3 separate regions of the Homo sapiens genome follow, and regions 1 and 3 are each linked to region 2. Evidence: promoter capture Hi-C in human tissues and cell types (Jung and others, 2019). All regions are on one chromosome and are shown on one strand. Each heading gives the region's core, a stretch centred on a gene start or on the middle of the fragment in contact. The rest is flanking DNA. Distances are from core to core; before and after follow the strand shown.

The links. Contacts are between HindIII fragments. The study calls those that stand out against the background at their distance.
Region 1: a fragment that was not itself captured here is called in contact with the fragment with the promoter of PERP in region 2 in 1 of the 25 tissues and cell types used here (bladder).
Region 3: a contact is called between a fragment that was not itself captured here and the fragment with the promoter of PERP in region 2, in 1 of the 25 tissues and cell types used here (bladder).

The regions. Positions count from the first base shown.
Region 1 is chr6:138,307,073-138,309,967 of GRCh38, forward strand. ARFGEF3 (ARFGEF family member 3) reads left to right here. Exons shown (of 34, transcript NM_020340.5): 23 at 181-325; 24 at 1,667-1,789. Among named protein-coding and RNA genes, the nearest start is that of SMIM28, 69 kb to the right of the region's middle. The HindIII fragment of the contact is 4,091 bases long and covers 1-2,895 here.
Region 2 is chr6:138,106,137-138,109,213 of GRCh38, forward strand. It overlaps PERP (p53 apoptosis effector related to PMP22), which reads right to left and starts at 1,283. Exons shown (of 3, transcript NM_022121.5): 1 at 991-1,283. The coding sequence starts at 1,204. RefSeq lists a silencer at 1,412-1,461. The HindIII fragment of the contact is 18,311 bases long and covers 1-3,077 here.
Region 3 is chr6:137,860,176-137,863,070 of GRCh38, forward strand. The region is part of intron 3 of WAKMAR2 (wound and keratinocyte migration associated lncRNA 2); the gene reads right to left. Among named protein-coding and RNA genes, the nearest start is that of TNFAIP3, 5.6 kb to the right of the region's middle. The HindIII fragment of the contact is 5,917 bases long and covers 1-2,895 here.

The sequences.
Region 1 (2,895 bases), core at 287-2,786, 200 kb after region 2:
CAAATTAATACAATACGGCTGATTATTCAGAAGATTTTTGAGTGAGTTTGTCTATTCTGGTTTTTCCTTTTCACTAAAATTAACTCCAAAATAGGGGACAGAGAAATACATCACCCTTCCCAGAAATTCTGCTCCTTTTAAGGAGAGGGCTTTAAGTGCCACTTGCTTTGCCTCTACCAGGTTGTCACATCCATTGGTGAGCTGGTTGAAGTGTGTTCCACGCAGATCCAGTCGGGATGGAGACCCTTGTTCAGTGCCCTGGAAACAGTGCATGGCGGGAACAAGTCAGAGATGAAGGAGTACCTGGTTGGTGACTACTCCATGGGTAAGAATGTTTGGATGATTCTTGCTATTCAGCATTAATTCTCTGTGCCAAGTTTCATGCTATTAAAAAAAAAAAATTGAACAATAGGGAAGACAGATTGTCAGCCATGTTTTATCAGCAGGAAAGAATGTGGTGTAGCAGGAACATGAGTCCTGAGTTCTGCCAGCAGGCTGAGAGCCCTGAGCATTGTCAGGCCCTGTTCTTGCTGACAATTGGACAATAAGGCTGAGAGACTTCTGTTGTTTCACTTACACATTGCTGTGTTGAGTTCACGTCTAAAGCCAAAAAGAAAAATGTTATCCATTTGCTAGTAAGAAGCAGAAAAGTATCATAACACAGAGTAACCAGAATTAGGGAGATTCGGTCTGCTGGAAATGGATGGGTACCCATAAAGCATGCCCAGGGCCCAGGGGTGTTGTCTCAGAGGTTCCCAAGACCACCCCTAAACTCAGAAACCCACCAGAAAGACTCATGGGACCCAGCATATAGTTATGTTGAGATTTATTACACAGCTCGTGACTAAGTTTTAGCAACGTAGGAAGGACACAACAGGTTATGACACAGACAGAGTCTGGAAGAATCTATGCACCAGCTTCCCTGTGCTCTCGCCCTCCCAGGAGGGATCACACAGAAGACATTCTTCCCCCAGCAGTGAAAACACAGCAACATGTTTGCAATGTTTCTGCCTGTTGAAGCCCATTAGAGATCTAGCTGGGGACTGGCCACTTACATACCCTTTGCCTAGCACATTACCAAAATCCCAGACTCCCAACAGGAAAGCAGGTGTTCACCATAAACCGTATGGTTTGTATGAACAGTCTAGGCACGGTGAACTACTCTTATCAGTTAACTGTGGCCTGGGAGTACTCTGAGAGCTGAGTTCCCAGACACCCGCCAAAGGCCAATTTTGCAAGCAAGCTTTCTAAAAGAAAAGTGGTCTCAGGCCTTCTGTGCTCTTTTTCTGCATAGATATAAAGAAACTCATATATGCCACCAAAGGTCTATCTAAACCTGCCCTGCTGTGCCCTGTAGATAATCTACAAATACCTGTGCAGGAGCATTCCAGAGGCCACATGGTTCCCTGCTCTATAGACCAGCACATTGCCTCAGCTCTGCACTCGGCCAGCTCAGCCCTCATCTCTCTGCCGAGCTGCTCCCCTGCCGGCAGAGCTGAGCACCATGCTGGAGCCAAGCCAATGGCCCAATAAAAAACCCAGGCATCTCCCCAGTAGATCTTTCTCAAGATCTGTCTCAGTGGAACGTGCTGGGAATATGGGCAACCCTGGCAAACCCGAGGGCAGAAACTTACTTTCTTACAATTCTATAATCTTCCTCCCTTAGGAAAAGGCCAAGCTCCAGTGTTTGATGTATTTGAAGCTTTTCTCAATACTGACAACATCCAGGTCTTTGCTAATGCAGCCACTAGCTACATCATGTGCCTTATGAAGTTTGTCAAAGGACTGGGTAAGCAGAACCCTTCTCTCATGCCTTGTAACTGCTGAGGACCCTTTCCAGGGTGGCTCTGTGGCTGGAGACAGGGCCTACTGACTGTCTGGAACAAGCACGCATCCTGGGGTACAAGCAGATGGTGGTGTTGTGTACTCAAAAGCAAAAACTTACTGTGAAAGAAGCTTGAATTTTGTGTAAGGTTGATACTTTTCATTGTATTCATGGAATATCTTATAGCATATTTTTAATCTATTTATTTATTATTTTATACTAACTTTATTGTCAAAGAATAATATCAACCTTGTATTTTCCCTTTGTAAAAGGTTCTCGGGCTCCAGGTCTAATCACACTCTATGGAAACTCTCAAAATTTTAAGTTTCTTCTAAACCTTTTGGTTTAACTAAGTGTCCTTCCCTTTCATTTCACCCTACATAAACCTGTGCTATATAAAAATCTCCTATTGCAGGTCATGTTGTATAGTGAGAATATATTTTGTTAAGGTGTTTCTAAATTAAGTATAAAATCATCTGGGTAGTTTCTGAAATACACGAGGCTTTCAAGAAGGGGGACTTCTATACTTAGAAAATATATTTTATAATTAATTAAGCCTGGGGTAGGAGGAATTCTTAACTTTTGCTAAAAAGTTGGGAAATCAAACTCAAGCTGCTAATCATATGACACTGAGAATAGGTTTCTGCATAAGGGCAATTATTTAATATAATATTGACTAATCTAAGGTTGGAAATCTTAGAACATTCCTACAATTATGGAGGCTGAGAAGTCCCACGATAGACCATCTGCAAGCTGGAAAACCAAGGAAGCCGATAACATGGCTCAGTTCAAGTTCAAAGGCCTCAGAATGAGGGGCACTGATGGTGTAACTCTTAATCCAAAGCCAGAGGCTCGAGAACCTGTAGTTCTAAGACAAGAGAAGGATATCCCAGCTCCAGAGACAGAGACACAGAGAATTCTCCTTTTCTCTGCCTTTTGTTCTCCTGGGCCTTGGCTGATTAGATGGTGTCTGCCTACACTGGGTGAGGGTGGAGCTCCCTTACTCAGTCTGATTCAAATGCCAGCCTCTTCCAGAACCAACCTCACAGACACACCCAGAAATCATGCTC
Region 2 (3,077 bases), core at 33-2,532:
GGTAGCTTGCTGTCTGTGTTTAAAACTATTAAACCCGGTAGGTAAAGCCCATTTGGCTTTAAGGTTTTATTAGGCTCTCACAGACCCCATCTCCACCCCCACACACATTGCTAATCACAGTAGACCCCAGCTGTGATTCCCATCCACCCCCAGGAAAGGAGAGGGGGCTTCCCACTGTGAAAGAAAATGCCTTCTCAGACAAGAACTATGCTCCAGTCCTGACTTTCAGCAAGGCAAGCAGGGAGCTTCCTCCATGCTGGGAAAATGGCATACAGTACTTCACCTGCTAGGTACATTAAATTTGTCAACTCTGCTTCACGTCGCGAGTGTAGGGAATGTGTTTGCTTTTTAGATTTCAAATCGGATTAAAATAATTAAGTTTTCTAAACAACAATGCCATGCTTAAACCAAAGGACACGCCCTAGAACAAGAGCTAACAAGAACTAGCCTGACCGGTAAAGTAGACTGAAATATCTATTGAAAACGTTAACTGCTAAAACTGCCTGAAAGGGCTTTTTTAAATGAGAAAGTTTTTTCAGCTATATCAAGTTGAACGAATCCACTGATATTAGGGAAGGCACGTTATTTCAATATTTATATTTTAATCATAAGAAGAAACGAGAAGGAAGAGAAATGGGAAGAAATTTCAGGTCTCCAAGAAACTTTGTTCATTATATTTACTCATCTAAACTTGCAATGCTTGAAATAATCTTTCGTACGTAACCGACAAAACCCAGGAAAAAAACTATACAGTTTGAACTACGGCCTTTTTTTTTTTTCTGTTTCTGAGCTTGGTGTTGGCCACCCAAAGCTACTGCTGCTGCATTTGGTTCAGGTCGGATGCATGAGCCCGAGCTCGTCCTAAACAGGCATTCTGAAAAGCACTGGCTCCCCCGACCCTGTGAGGGCCCATCACGCGCGGCGGCTTTTGCAGGCCGCGGCCCCGAGGGCTTCCTGGAGGCGGCGACGGCGGCGGCGGCGGGCACTCACCGTACTCCATGAGGCTCTGACAGCCCTCCTCGTAGGACCCGCTGCCGCCGCCCTCTTGGGAGCATTTCCACCACAGCGAGGACGTCTGGCCGTGGTCGCTAGACTGCAACCAGCCGCGGCCGGCCAGCGCGATGATGTCGAAGGCGATGGCGCTGAGTAGGAGCAGGGGCAGGATCCAGCGGCAGCGCTCGCAGGCCAGGCCGCAGCGGATCATGTTGACGGGCGGCGCGGGGCCGAGCGGAGCGGAGCGGAGCGGGTCGGAGGAGCGCGCGGGACGGGCGACAGCAGAGAGTGGCCTGCGAGCGCGGGCGCCGCCACAAAAGCGAAGAGGCCGCGGGGAGGCGGCTCCCGAGGACGCCGCTCCGGGCGGCCCCACCTAGATTCCGGTGACTCAGAGCGCGCCCGCCCCGACCTGCCCTGCCGGGCCGGGGCGGGCGGGGCCGCTGGTAAACAGGCTGGGTTCTGGTGACACCGGGCGGCGGCGGAAGGCGGCCCGAGGGTCCCGCGCGTCCCACAACCCTCCAGTCCCGCTCTCCTGGCCTCTCCAGGCGCGTGTTTTGTCTTCCTGGCGCACCAACATATACACTTGTTTATCTGCACAGCGCCAGCCTAATATCTGACCCCTGATGTCGCATCGTGGGGCGGTGGTCAGCAGTGCCATATCTGAGTTTTCAGCAGTGTGAGATGGGTGTTCTAATTGCACCTGTGGATAAAGGCTGCACTCCTTTGGACGCGTGCACCCAAACCCAGAAGCCCGTCCCTGACCCCTGCTGACACAGGTGATCCCTTCCTCCTAGGCTCCGCCTTTGCACCTTGGACCGTGGCTCCCCGGGTACTCTTATCTCTTTGCATGCTGTTCTTTCCTGCTGGGTTGCCAGATTTTGGAAAGCGGAGGCGATGCTGAATTTATCTGTGTATCCTTAGTGTCCGGCACCGTGTTTGGATCTCAAGGGGAGCTCAGTGAATTTGATGAATGAACATGTAATTTAACAAATGCTCGCTTCCTTTCGGAAAGGCTTCATCTGGCTTCCCCAGATAATTTCATGTCGCCTCTGCTGCAGTCCACTTCCTATCACGAATCTCTACCTATTTAAACTGCACTCTCTCTACTCTTCATTTACTATTTTGAGGTTTTTCCAAATAAAAATCATACGTCAGCATGCAACCTGCATTTAGGATCCCCCCTTCGGTGTCCTGGGCTAGCTCCCGTCGCAGTTCTGACTCCTAAGATGTGACAGGAAGGGTGGGGTGGCAGCCAGGTGTGCCGCTGAGGACAAAGGAGTTCTCAGTGTCAGGCACCTCGGTGGCCTTGGGAAAATCACTGAAACATCGTATGGGGGTCATGTCTTAACCCTGTACCTCCAAAGATTTCTTCTGAATCCCCTATTTTTTCTGTTAATTTAATATAAAAGTGGGAACTACTTAAAAATATTTTAAATTGTATTCCAATTTGATATTCTCAATAGAAACAGAATACTCTTTTGACTTATGCCATTTTCTGGCAATTCTTGAGGACGAATAAAAGCATGGAGAAAGTATCTGAAAATACATGAAATAATTTCCCTAGCCTTCATTTTACATAATTCAAGTTTTACATAAACCACGTCATATATTTTTATTACAGGAAAATATTTTCACTTTCAAAGAACACAAGAGGGTGTTCTGCCAAAAGTTAATTTTGTATCGTGGAAGCTGTGTGAAGAAAATGGTGATATTTATGTTCTCAGGGTTTTCAAAAGTAATGAAGATATTTGTTTAATTAGCTATGTATAATATATTTGTGAGAAAAAAAAATTCTTATAAGTCAAATACTGACCAGAAGCAAAGTGGCTTCAGACAAAATGAGAGTTTTGCAGGCATCTTAATATCTCTGGATAATTTTGGACTTGATATATATAATTTATTTTCGTTATTCAATGAAACCATTTCCGATGGGCTTGAGGAAAAGAGCTCATTAATGCCGAGGTGAACACAAAGAGATTAGCTCTTCACAATTTCTGGAAGAGACCACATTGACCCTGGTGGGTTTCCAACAATAATATACCCAACATGTGGTACAGACTCTGGAACCGGATGGTTCAGGTTTA
Region 3 (2,895 bases), core at 262-2,761, 250 kb before region 2:
GCTTCATTATACTCTCCTCTCTTTGGAATTCAGGCACAACTGACCAGCATTAACATTAAAACAGAGATCTTAAGACTGACAAAACAGACTTTTTGTAGCAATAAGATAGCAATGTGACAGGAGGCCCTGAAAGAAATCCAAGTATTTTACTTCAAAATATATTTATTTGATACATTTTGAAATGACCTGGCAAAGCTGTCTGTTGTGAGGAAACTCTCCATTCCGTAGATAATTCTCTCTCCTTTCCAGGTCTTTTCCTGATCCAGGAGATATTCAACTGAGTCTGGCACCGTTTAAGGTCTGATAGGAGATATTTACCACCTATTACTCTTTCTGAAGGCTGCTACCAGAAGGCTTCATCTTCATAACAAGAACCTTGGCCTCCACAACCCTCCTTATCTTAACCCTAAGCATTTCTGTCTTAACTCCTTAGAAAGAAACTTAACTGTTTCAACCAACTGCCAATCAGAACACCTTTGAATTCAACTATCAGCTGTAAGCCCAACACCCTCCTTGAAGTTGTCCTACCTTTCTGGACCAAATGAACATATACGTTACATACACTGATTGATGTCTGCCTATAAATTCTGTCCCCCTAAACTGTGTAAAATCAAGCTGTAACCCAACCACTGTGTTTGGATACATGTTCTCAGGACCTCCTGAGGCTATGTCATGGGTCATGGTCCTCACATTTGGCTCAGAATAAATGTCTTTAAATATTTTACAGAGATTGGCTTTTTTTTCTTTTTTCTTTTTTTTTTTTTTTTTGTTTGTCAACAGCATAGAAACATCCATACTAAACATACCTGGCAGAAGGTCAGTGCATCTCTCCCTTGCTGATGGTTATTCATTCAAACATGAAAGGAGAAAATAACTGGTTTAGTCTTTCTCAGGAACACACACTCTTTTTTTAGAGTCAGACTATTTTCTTCTTCAATGAGTTAAGTTTTACTAGAGACACTTAGTAGTATATTTGGAAACTTAAAATGTAATAGTAGTACCTCTTCTTTTCTGATCTTCTGTTTATTCCCTTACCTACCTAAAAAGATCAATCACTTACTAGGATTAACCCAACACTTAGGCTCAATCAACTGCATGAACGTGTTTGGACTCTCAAAATACTATATTTCCTCAATTTTACAACATACTTTTTTTAAACATTTAAAAATTTCTAATATAATCATTAGTTTAAATTTTTACGTAAAAAGCCTCAAATGCCAGGGAGTGAAGAGAGGTGGTTCTCATTGCCTGTGCATTTGCAAGCTTAGAAATGTCTAAAGGAAAGGTATCTTTTCATTCTTCCTCCCAATCCTTTCATTCATCTAACAAACTGTTGTTCACTGAGTGCCTGTTTTGTATCACGTACATTTCTGGGCACAGGGAGTACAGAGTACAATGATAGGCAAGCATCAATGATAGACTCTCAAAGAGTCTCATTCTAGTAGGGAAAGGTAGATGATAAACAATTGAACTGATAAATAAAGAATTTTCAATTGTGATAAATGTTACAAAGAAAGCAAGACAGAAAGATCAGGAAGTGGGGTAAGTCAGGGAGGTTTCTCTGATTAAATAACATGTAAGCAGAAAGCTGAGTGCTGAGCAGTTGCAAGGGCAGTCCCTGTAGAGAAAACAGTAAGTGCAGGGGCCCTGGGGCAAGCTGGCCTGAGCTCAGCAGAATAAGGGAACATGGAGACACCCTGTTGACTCATTTACATGGCTAGCTGAACAAGAAGTTCCATTTAACTTAAATTTGGATTTCTATCTCTTAAACAAAATATCTTTCAAAAGATACATTATGATGCTAGACTAAAGCTAACAGAGAAAAACGCAGAACTAAAGTCCATTGTTTCTGGTAAAGCAATGGCCCGTTTGGTCCCCATATAGAGATAAAGCTGTTTAAATGCATCATGGAAAAATAGGCCCACTCTCATGATGAAAGGCTTATAGGGAGCCAAATTCCTTTCCAAAGCTGTTATTAAACAGAGCATCTTTTTTTTTTTCTTTTTAATGGTTGCAGCACACCAACATGGCACAGGTATACATATGTAACAAACCTGCACGTTGTGCACATTTACCCTAGAACTTAAAGTATGATAAAAAAAAAAAATGAAAAGAGCATCTTAAAGGACTATCTCTATTTCCAGCAGACCTTCAAGAGAAGTTTAAAGGAATATGTAATGTTATAGTCAATTCTAAATTACTAAAAAGGCCAGAAGAGGCAGATTACTGCAAACAGCCTATCTGAGCACTGCAGTACACAATTGTCAAGGATCAAAATCAGCTCAGAGGAATCATAAAACTCCAAGAAGCCTTCGAATCAAACATGAATGGTGACAGTGAAGAAGAAAGAGAAATGTCATCACATCAATAAACATAGGCTAAGTGAGTAAAGGAAGAAACGTGTGTACATTTCCTACAATAAGGTTGTTCCCCTCCCAATCTTGTTATTAAATCCATAGTGTGTCTTACAAACATGGACTCTCAGAATCATAGAAATACCACAGCTCTTTCTCCAGCCTGCTAAAGTGCTTGGAATTTCCACCATTAAGCTCTAGGAAGTTCTGTAAGAACATTTTATCAAGAAATATAACACAGTAACACATCACAATCTGTTTGAAAAATGAGCATGATTTATCTTACCAGCCAGTCCCGGGAAACAGGTCTCTGAAAGAATGGAAGCCTTTCAAATTCTTTTTTTATGGAGATGGCTGGCAGCCAAAGGAGCAGGATTATAGAGACCCCAAACTAGACTGAAGGGATTGAGGGACAAATGAGAAAGGGGAATGTCAAGGCAAATTTTCACAATGGCTTGCACTATTCCAAGTAACAGGAACTAATTTATCTCAGAAACACCGGGCTTACTGCTAAAACCAACACTGCTTTCTAGCTCGTTCC